Regions from separate parts of the Homo sapiens genome. Here region 1 is linked to region 2. Evidence: promoter capture Hi-C in human tissues and cell types (Jung and others, 2019). All regions are on one chromosome and are shown on one strand. The core of a region is centred on a gene start or on the middle of the fragment in contact, and the rest is flanking DNA. Distances in the headings are between cores, read along the strand shown. Region 1 overlaps ST6GALNAC3 (ST6 N-acetylgalactosaminide alpha-2,6-sialyltransferase 3). Region 2 holds the start of ST6GALNAC3 (ST6 N-acetylgalactosaminide alpha-2,6-sialyltransferase 3).

Region 1 (4,337 bases), core at 929-3,428, 200 kb after region 2:
AAAAATAGATGGAATAAGACCCCCTCCTTCATAACAGGTCAATTAAAGACATATATGTATATGTTTATGTGTATATATATATATATATATATATATATATATATATATATACACACACACATATGTTTATGTGTATATATATATATATATATATACACACACACACACACACACACACATTTCTACATATGTAGCTGTATATACACGAATATACACATATATGTCTTTAACTTAACGTGAAGGAGGAGTCTTATTTCATCTGTGTTTTAATATGGCTAATAATTGTCTCAGCATCATTTACGTTTCCCAATAATCTGTAATGGTATCTCTGTCATCTACCAAATTTCCCCATATGCCTGGATTTATTTCTGGGCTGTCTGTGGTGTGCCTTTGGTCTGTTGTCTTTGAGTCAGTACCATATTGCCACTAGCTTCTATACATTTACAATGAGCTTTAAGTCTGGTTACACAAGTCTCCTCCCACATTCTCACGCCTAGACCTTATTCTTCAGGAATGTCTTGGTCATTCTTGGCCTTTTGCATTTCTACAGAAATTTTATAATAATCTTGGAGATTTTTAATATTTTTATGAAATTTCATTAAATTTATAGTTTTGGGGAAGAGTTGGTATCTTTGTAACATTATAATGTTGAGTCTTTCTATCTATATTTCTATCCAAATCTACTTATTTAGATCTTCACTGTCTTTCGTCACTATAATAAATGGTATCTTTCAGTATCATGTATTCTCATTATTGCTAGGCATTCTTTTTTTTTTTTTTTGAGATGGAGTCTCGCTCTGTCATCCCAGGCTGGAGTGCAGTGGCGCGATCTCGGCTCACTGCAAGCTCCGCCTCCCGGGTTCACGCCATTCTCCTGCCTCAGCCTCCCGAGTAGCTGGGACTACAGGGGCCCGCCACCATGCCCAGCTAATTTTTTGTATTTTTAGTAGAGACGGGGTTTCACCGTGTTAGACAGGATGGTCTCAATCTCCTGACCTGGTGATCCGCCCATCTCGGCCTCCCAAAGTACTGGGATTATAGGCTGCTAGGCATTCTTTTTTTTAATGGATTTCAGTGTTTAAAGAATTCAAGAAGAGCCTTTGATATCTGGTTACCTCTACTTTTTGAGGAAACCAAATCCCTGATGCAGAGAATGAAAGAGTTTGTCTATCTGCTTGAACGGAGAAGAAAAGAAAAATAAACAGAAAATGTTGCAATTTGAAAGTAATTTTAGTAAATTTGCCTGCCACACCTACATAATCTTATTTAATCCTCACCACAACGTTCGAAGTTAGGTGTTATTTGTCCTATTTTCATGACAAGGGAAACCAAGGTTTAGGAAAGCCAAGTAATTTACTCAAAGTCACAGAGCGAATGTGTTTATGGTAAAGCCAGGATTTAAAATCAGGTGGATTTCACACCAAAATAGTTCTGTTCATCGCGTAGTACTTTCCCTCGGGCAAGAAGAATGTTCACAATTTTCTAAGCATTTGAGTACAATGACCGGAATGGATAATCCTTTCTGTAGACAATTATGTGGCTCTGTCTCCCCTCACTAAGGTCAGCAGACATTTGATACAACTTTATCCATCTCTTCTTGTCACTGTTGCTGGCTGAGGGGGCCACTTGGCTCCCAGGGAGGAGATTTTGCACACCTGAGGAAACAGACAGCAGACAGCACCAACATGCTTCCCCTAGACTGCATTTGGACACACACAGCCAGGCAGGGGAACTGAAATTGTAGAGCAGCAGTCTGTGTGGAGTCATTTTAATGTTTTCTTAAACAGTCAGTGATGGAAAACTTTGATAACAACTCAAGTGAAAGCTTATGGCTGCGAAAAGCCTCCTCTGTGGATCTGACTGGAAAGGATTCTCTGCTGAATATGGCTTAGATGCCTGAGCCCCGTGTTCTTTGGTAAGAAAATTACCGCAAGTCATTCGCCATCTGTGATCCTCAGGGGTGGAATCTTTTGCTGGAAGACACAGTTATTATCAATCAACCTGTGCTAGCCAACAGGCCTCCAGAGCTTCGCGGGTGGGGGGAATGTTGTTACAGAAGAAACGGGAAAGAGGAGCCTTTGTGGGAAAGGGTGGTTAGTATTCTTGATGGCTTGTCAGAGGCAGTAGTGGCCATAATCACGTGAGTGCAGCACTTGAGCTGGTTCAGAGCTGCAGTGCCTGGAGTCGTGTCTGCCGGCAGCTGCCGGAGGCGGAAGTGGCGTCCATGGTAGCCACTTCGTCAGGAGGGCTCCTCAGGTTTTAGAGCCAGAGCACAACTGTGACTCCTATACCAGGCACACTGGACCTCAGGAGCCTTGCTGGAGTCTCCTCAGAATTCACAAAAGAAATATGAAGAATTAGGAAGAAAGTTAAAACTTAGTAGAGATCCTCTTTATAGATGCAACTTGAGAAACAGCGCACAGATATAGGTTACTCGACTGGAGGAGTTCTGTGTTTGTGTTTTCCTATTATAAAGAGTTCGGGAGAAAGTGGGGTGCTTGCTAACCATTGGTTCTCTCTCCTGTCTCTCTCCTGTCTTTTCTCTCATCTTGCCCTTTCTCTTTTGCCATTGCCCCTTTTCTCATTTTTCGTTCTCTTATTTGTTCTTTCCTTCTCCCTCCACTTCTCCTTCGCCTTTTCTCTCTTGCTTCTTTCTCTGCTTCACTTCATTCTCCCTGTTCTGTCCTCTCTTCCAGTCGCCCTTTTTTCCAACCCACCCTTTGCTATGTTCTGAATTAGTGATTGCCTAAGTGGAAAGATGGAGACAGTTTCAGAAATCCTATTTATTTTAGTTCATCAGTTGTTACTGCTTACTTTTTGTTTGAATATATTTGGGGTATATTCTCAAAAATATGTTGATAATGGAGTACAGAAATTCTGGTGACTGTTACTCTCCAATGTCTCTCTTTTCTTCCTAGAACTAACTACTAGTCCTTTCCAGTTCGGGTAGATGGATTATATTTCTTGCATAGTACTTTCAGCATTTATCATTTTTGGTAAATGAATACCTAATGTGCCGCTAGGGAAGCTAAATTCATACCTATTTCAGCTGGGGTGAGCACTGTGACCTTCTGTTACACATACCTATTGCTGCCACCAGAGACAGAAGATTGAGTTGGATGCACTATGGGTAGAGACAAGGGCTGGTGCTACTTACTTATCAGAAAGGATTCTTGTAAGAATTAAATGAAATAATGGGCATAGAATTTAGAATTAAATAATGTTATGTGCATGGTATGCTACAAAGATTTGGATTCAGACCTCTTTACAAATCTCAGATTCGTCATTTACTAGCATGCAAACTTGGGCAAGTCACTTTATTCTACTTGAACCTTTTCTTTTCTATAAAATGAGGTCAATAAATAATATTCATTTACAAATTGATCATCAAGGCAAATGAGATAATACATGAAATCTCCTAAAATAGAGTAGATGCTCACTGAATATCACCTTACTTCCCTCCACCCAACTATGCATTTATTTATCTGTCAAACATTTATATTATGCTCACTTTATGCCATGCACTGTTCTAAGAGCTTTATAAATTTAACTCTTCAATATCATCATAGTCTTTTGAGTACTTACTATTACTATCTCGTTTTGCAGATTGGTAAGCTGAAGCAAAGGAGGTTTAATAACTTGTTTAAAGCCTCATGGATAGTAAGTAGCAGAGCCACTAACTGATATTTTTGTGCCGACACCTTAATTCAAGCTTTTTTCTCCTTTAACTGAAGATATTATTGCCCTGAGATATTACCTTGAAATCGATATAGATTTTTTTCTTGAGTTTGCAAATTTTCTCTCTTAGAAGGCCTGAGGAAAAAATAACATTAAACAAATGCACACTTAATTATGAGTTCATTTTCTGTGTTAATGTAGTAAAGAGGTGAATGAATGTCATAAAATATACTCTCATTTGGTTCCACCCTGAGAGAGCCGTTGGATTGCAGCCCCAGTGCTTTTCAGCAGGGAAGCTGGCCAGAGATGCCTGCAGCCTGCTGGGGAGTGTGTGGGTAGCTCCTCCAGCAGTGTGCCTGCACTCCTCATCTGCACAGAGCATGCACAGTGTTCAAAGGCACACAGATGGGGACTCAAGTGGGGCCAAGATCACTGGGAAGAGTGTCGGAAAATGAAACCTGGCCAACAGACAGCACCCTTCTGTTTAATCAGAATGCTGGAGCCAGGTCCAGAGAATAATGACTACAAACTGGCTGTGCCTTGGGCCTATTCAGCATCTTGTTCTCATTTTCAAGTGTTTGGTCCTTGGGAAGGTCTCAAAGTTCACTTTGCTACTCGATTATGCTGCCTATTGAGGAATTTTCAAGGCAAAGTGAATT
Region 2 (4,732 bases), core at 1,549-4,048:
GGCTTCTAACATACTGGACAGCTGAATGTAGCAGTTAAGATGGCAAACCCACAAGTCCCTAGATTCAAACCCCTGTTCCCCTAGTTACCAGCTGGGGATGATAACATCCATGTGGATGTTGTGAGGATCAAATGAGATACTTTCTTTAATTGCAGGATGCTCCATTTTGTTATTATTATTTTTGGAAATAGAAACTCTTGGCTTTAAGTCACATAATGTTAGAGCTGGAAAATTATGCTACACCTATGGATTTGACTAAGCTGTTCCTGTAGTTTGGCCAGTTTTAAAACAAAAAAATCCTGGCAACACACTCCTATCCTCCCAGCCCCAACAAATCTGGCTATCTCCATTCCCTGGTAGGTTCAAAACCTGTTTTTATTTCCATCCAAAAGCTTCCCCCCCACCCCCAGACATCGAGTGGTCCATCTAAAACAGTGATTGTTAATACTGTTTTGTAAATCTTCCAGTCCAGATTTATTCTAGAACTTGAGTTTGTTTTTAGATTGTTATAAATGTGCCTTTATTTCTAGCTGTTTGACATAACTTTTGGATGTTAATAAAAAAAATAACACCTTGGGAAGTATGGACATGGGTGGATAGAAATGTAATTGAGAAAGCCATATCCAAGTAGATTGAGGGAATTAGTAAAGGCCTCATCACGGCATACCCAAGTCATAACATGTTAAAAGTTTGCTCCGTTGGTGTTCATCCTCCTGAGACACCCAAGGCTGATGGCAATTATCCTATTCATCTTCTCCCACAAGTCTGTCTTTAGCGGAAGATTTTTTTCTTTACATAAAGAGCTATCATATAAAAAGTGCTCATAGTGCCAGAAATTGAGGTAAATGCAATTTGCAAACATTATTATCTCATTTAATTCTCTTGAGGATAGATAATATTAGATAAGGTAAGGATTAAAGAGAGGTTAAGAAACTTGATCAAGGACACCCAGCAGGGAAGTACTTAGCAGGGCTGTTCACTAGGGCCTGCTGTTTCTCTTTCCAGATGTACAGACTTTCTAGAGAGAACGATGTGCTCTGCCCACCCTCACCCCTTTGCTCTGCTGTTCTGCCAGGGACATGCAGGAGACGGAGGCCTTCCTCTTAACCGCAAGAGGCCTTCCTTTTTTACTAATATTCCTCAGCACAGACCCTTTACGGGTGTCGGGCTGGGGGACGGTCAGGTGTTTCTCTTTCTCCTTCCTGAGATCTTTGCTTCCAATTTGGCTAAGGCCCTTTCCATGTTATAGTATCATGTATCTCTTATTCTTGTCTTTCTCACTTAACTGTGAGCCCACCTTGATGTTAGATATTCTGAAAGTCATTCTCCTATCCCTGAAAGGTCTTCAATAAAGATTTTTCCTCCACTTAGTGGAAGGTGAATAAAGTTTATTCTTCCATTTAGTAGTGGCTCAATAAAAAAGTTTGTGGAATCAATCAAGGGATGAGTAAATGAATGAAATACTGAATTTTCCTGGCCTATGAAGGACCATGAGCTAAAGCAGCGGTTTAAAGTATATAGTCCCAAACAAAGAATTCTTACTAAAAACACACCGGATCTGTAAGGCAGAGGAGGGAGGGGCGGGAGGAAGAAGTCGAAGAGCAGGGTGTGGTATTCCAGGGAGACTGAAGACAGGAGCTTCCCATGGGACAGGCAGTTCATCCACAGGCTCAGCTTCTGCAACCTCCTTCCTGTGGTTACTCCTGCTCTCTAAGAATTCTGCATGTTCTCATCAAGAAAATACCAAATTCCTTGAAAGCCTGGATTCTGCCTTGTGGTTTGTGAGCCAATCTCATGACACCACCAGCCCACAGTGCTTTTCCTGATTCCATGGAGGCAAACTAGACGGAGCTTCTAGCAAGTGAAACTTCTTTTGGGTAGATATTTGGGGGCCGCTTTTAAAATTTTTCTGACAGACCAAGTGGTAAAAATCTGTGTGTGTACACGGAATGCTCTCTCCCTTCTGCAATGCGTTTACTCTCCTTGTAGAAATAACTGCTTCTCTTAGCCGGCTCTTGCTTGGAGCAGGGAAGAGCAAAGTCCTATCATGTACACATACACAGTTTATAAACATATACTGTACAATCAACATGTACATATATAATACAATATACACATGTGTGCATCCTGTATCTGTATACTGTATATCATGCATATACAATTTCATAAACAAGCTTGTACCAGGAAAAGGCAATAATTTATATATTATACACACATACATGTATATGTAAAATATGTACACACACACAAAATATACCATACAGAGTGTAAGGTTCATGACGTCTTTCTTTCGTTGATATTTGTGCTCACTTATTAGCGGTAAATTATTAATTTTAGATAAGCCCATCACAGAGTGAAGGCTCAATCCTTGAACAGCCCAGGGAGAACTTCGTTGCTACTTTTGAAAAGCCCTTTGATGTGCCCAAAGTCTCCAGAAGGGCGATGCCAAACCCACTCAACTTTGACAAAGTGTGAAACGTCTGTAAAAAGGAGTTCTCTGATGTGTGAGAGGAGACGGAACCGAGAAGAAAAGGCCGTACTCTGCCCCCCGCGGGACCCAGGTCCCCGCCTGCTGCAGAGCGCACTCTGCGCACGTCGAGCCGCGAAAGGTTCACAGAAGAAAACAAGAGAAAGAAGTAGCAGGCACTGAGGAGCCGCCGGCGCCGGCGCCCAGGACGGCACGTGACCCGGGGGCGGGGCCGCGCGGGCCGCGGGCCAGTGGATGGGGACGGGGGCGGGGCCGCGGCTCGGGGGGCGGGGTCTGTGGCGGCGCAGCTTACACCGCGGTCCCCTTATTTGGATCTGCGGGAATGTGGGCTGGAGAGGTCCTGCCGTGGTACCAGCCTCCAGCCTGCCCCCAGGACTGCCCCTGACCCAGGCGCGCCCGCTGCTCGGTGGCAGGAGGGCCGGCGGAGCGCCATGGCCTGCATCCTGAAGGTAACGACTTGGATCTGTGGCTCGGACGCGTGGTTGGCCAGCCCCTTGCTGCTCAGAGGCACGGAGTCAGCCGCGGTCCCACCGCATCCTCATCTCAGTTGTCTTTTCCTGGCATTGATTTTCTTTTTGTTCCTTTGGCAAATGCATATGGAGGGAGATTCTGAAACATGCAGCTGGCACAGCTTCTTTTCCCACCATTCCTGCCTCCTGCTCGCGCCTGCATTGAAGGAGCTGCAGACTGTTGGCTCCAGGGGAGAGCAGGGCTGTGTGCCGAATAATGGGGATGGTAGGGAGAGGAGGGGTGTTCCCGCGGGTCCCGCGGCTCTGTGGAGCCTGAGGCCTTTCAGGGGCCACGGGGAGGGGTGGAGTGGCTAGGCGTGAGTTGCTGGTGGTGAGGGGCATAGCGCTTTAAATGGAGGGAAGAGTGAGCGGAGGTGGGCTCTACTGTGCATTTGATCATGTGAAGACAGAAACTTCTGAGTTTACAGGTAGTCCCTTAGGAATGAGTTTTCTATGAGATCTGCTAGCTCTGTTTGCCCTTAGCTCTACTTTGGAAAAGTTCACACGAGGATGTATATGTTAGTAGAGAACCTCTCACTCTCTTTATGCTCATAAATTTGAATAGACAAAATGATTTTATGCTCTGCCAGAGTGCGCTCAGCCATCCCTTCTTTGTTGAGTTTTCTTTCTCCAAGACCGGATTCTTAGCCTCACCTGAGCATCTTTCTGGGTTCACAGACTTGTGGCCTCAGGTGGGAGAACTTGGTGTGAGGGCCTCACTTAAAAAGAACTTTCCATCCCACTGGTAGAGGCCTCCCCTGCCCTCGTTTTTTTTTTTGCACTACCTTTCTACAAGAACATAACCTGGATGCATGAATCAAAAACATGAACAGCATGAAAGTTTCCTGGGCCTTGACTGGAGAATGCAGAGACCTAGTTGTCCAAGCCTGGGGGAACTGTGTGACGATGGAAAATACCAGGAAACAATTCGTTGTTGTTGTGTTATTGTGAAGTAGCATTTATTTCTCTATAAGATGATATTAAGTCATCTACTGTGTTCTGGTTACCTGAATCGTCTTCTAACGTGCCTGGTGTCAATGATGAAAATAAGAGACTAACCTCGTAGAAGTTGTTTCCCCTTCTTTGCGTAAAGGAGATCAGAAGTTTCCTGTGAGCTTTCTGAACTTCCTCTTTTTGTTTCAGAACATTTTCCAGGACATGAGGAAATAATACATCAGTATTACAGTATGGGGTATTTGACCGGGAGGCTCTTAGCACAAGGACTGAAATATGAATATGAGTCATCTTTACTATTCATTGTGTTATTTGCTGAAAGGGACATTGAGGAGCATGATATTTATTGCTGGCCATCTTTTTCTGTTTTGGTTTCTCCCCTGCCTTGTCCTATACATGTGGTAAACATCTTTAATGCACATCCCAAACTACACATGAATCTGGTCCAATCTTTCTCTTCTAGCACTTCACACTGCTTTCAGACATTTGGGACATATCTGTCCACCTTATCTTCCCTCCACTGAAACTAATGTGGGCTTTAGACTCAGAAAGATATGTCTGGATGCTGGCTCTGCCCACTGCTACCTCTGTGATGTTGGACAAGTTACTTAAATGTCTCTGGGCCTTAGTTTCTTCAATATAAGATCAAAGTAGTGGCACCTGCTTCACAAGGTTGCTGTGGGAATGAAATAAGATAGGGTATGAAAAATACTTTGTGGCACAGGCATTTAATATGTGCCATTTTTTTCCTCTAACATATAATAATAAGTGCAGTTTGGTT

What was found. The method cuts DNA at HindIII sites, captures the fragments that hold promoters and counts their contacts. A contact is called where the count stands out against the background at its distance.
Region 1: a contact is called between a fragment that was not itself captured here and the fragment with the promoter of ST6GALNAC3 in region 2, in 1 of the 25 tissues and cell types used here (heart right ventricle).

Annotation. Positions count from the first base shown.
Region 1 is chr1:76,277,458-76,281,794 of GRCh38, forward strand. The region is part of intron 1 of ST6GALNAC3 (ST6 N-acetylgalactosaminide alpha-2,6-sialyltransferase 3); the gene reads left to right. Among named protein-coding and RNA genes, the nearest start is that of ST6GALNAC3, 200 kb to the left of the region's middle. RefSeq lists an enhancer at 2,067-2,566. The HindIII fragment of the contact is 4,115 bases long and covers 122-4,236 here.
Region 2 is chr1:76,071,948-76,076,679 of GRCh38, forward strand. ST6GALNAC3 (ST6 N-acetylgalactosaminide alpha-2,6-sialyltransferase 3) reads left to right here and starts at 2,799. Exons shown (of 5, transcript NM_152996.4): 1 at 2,799-2,937. The coding sequence starts at 2,920. RefSeq lists a silencer at 2,600-2,799. The HindIII fragment of the contact is 7,284 bases long and covers 1,284-4,732 here.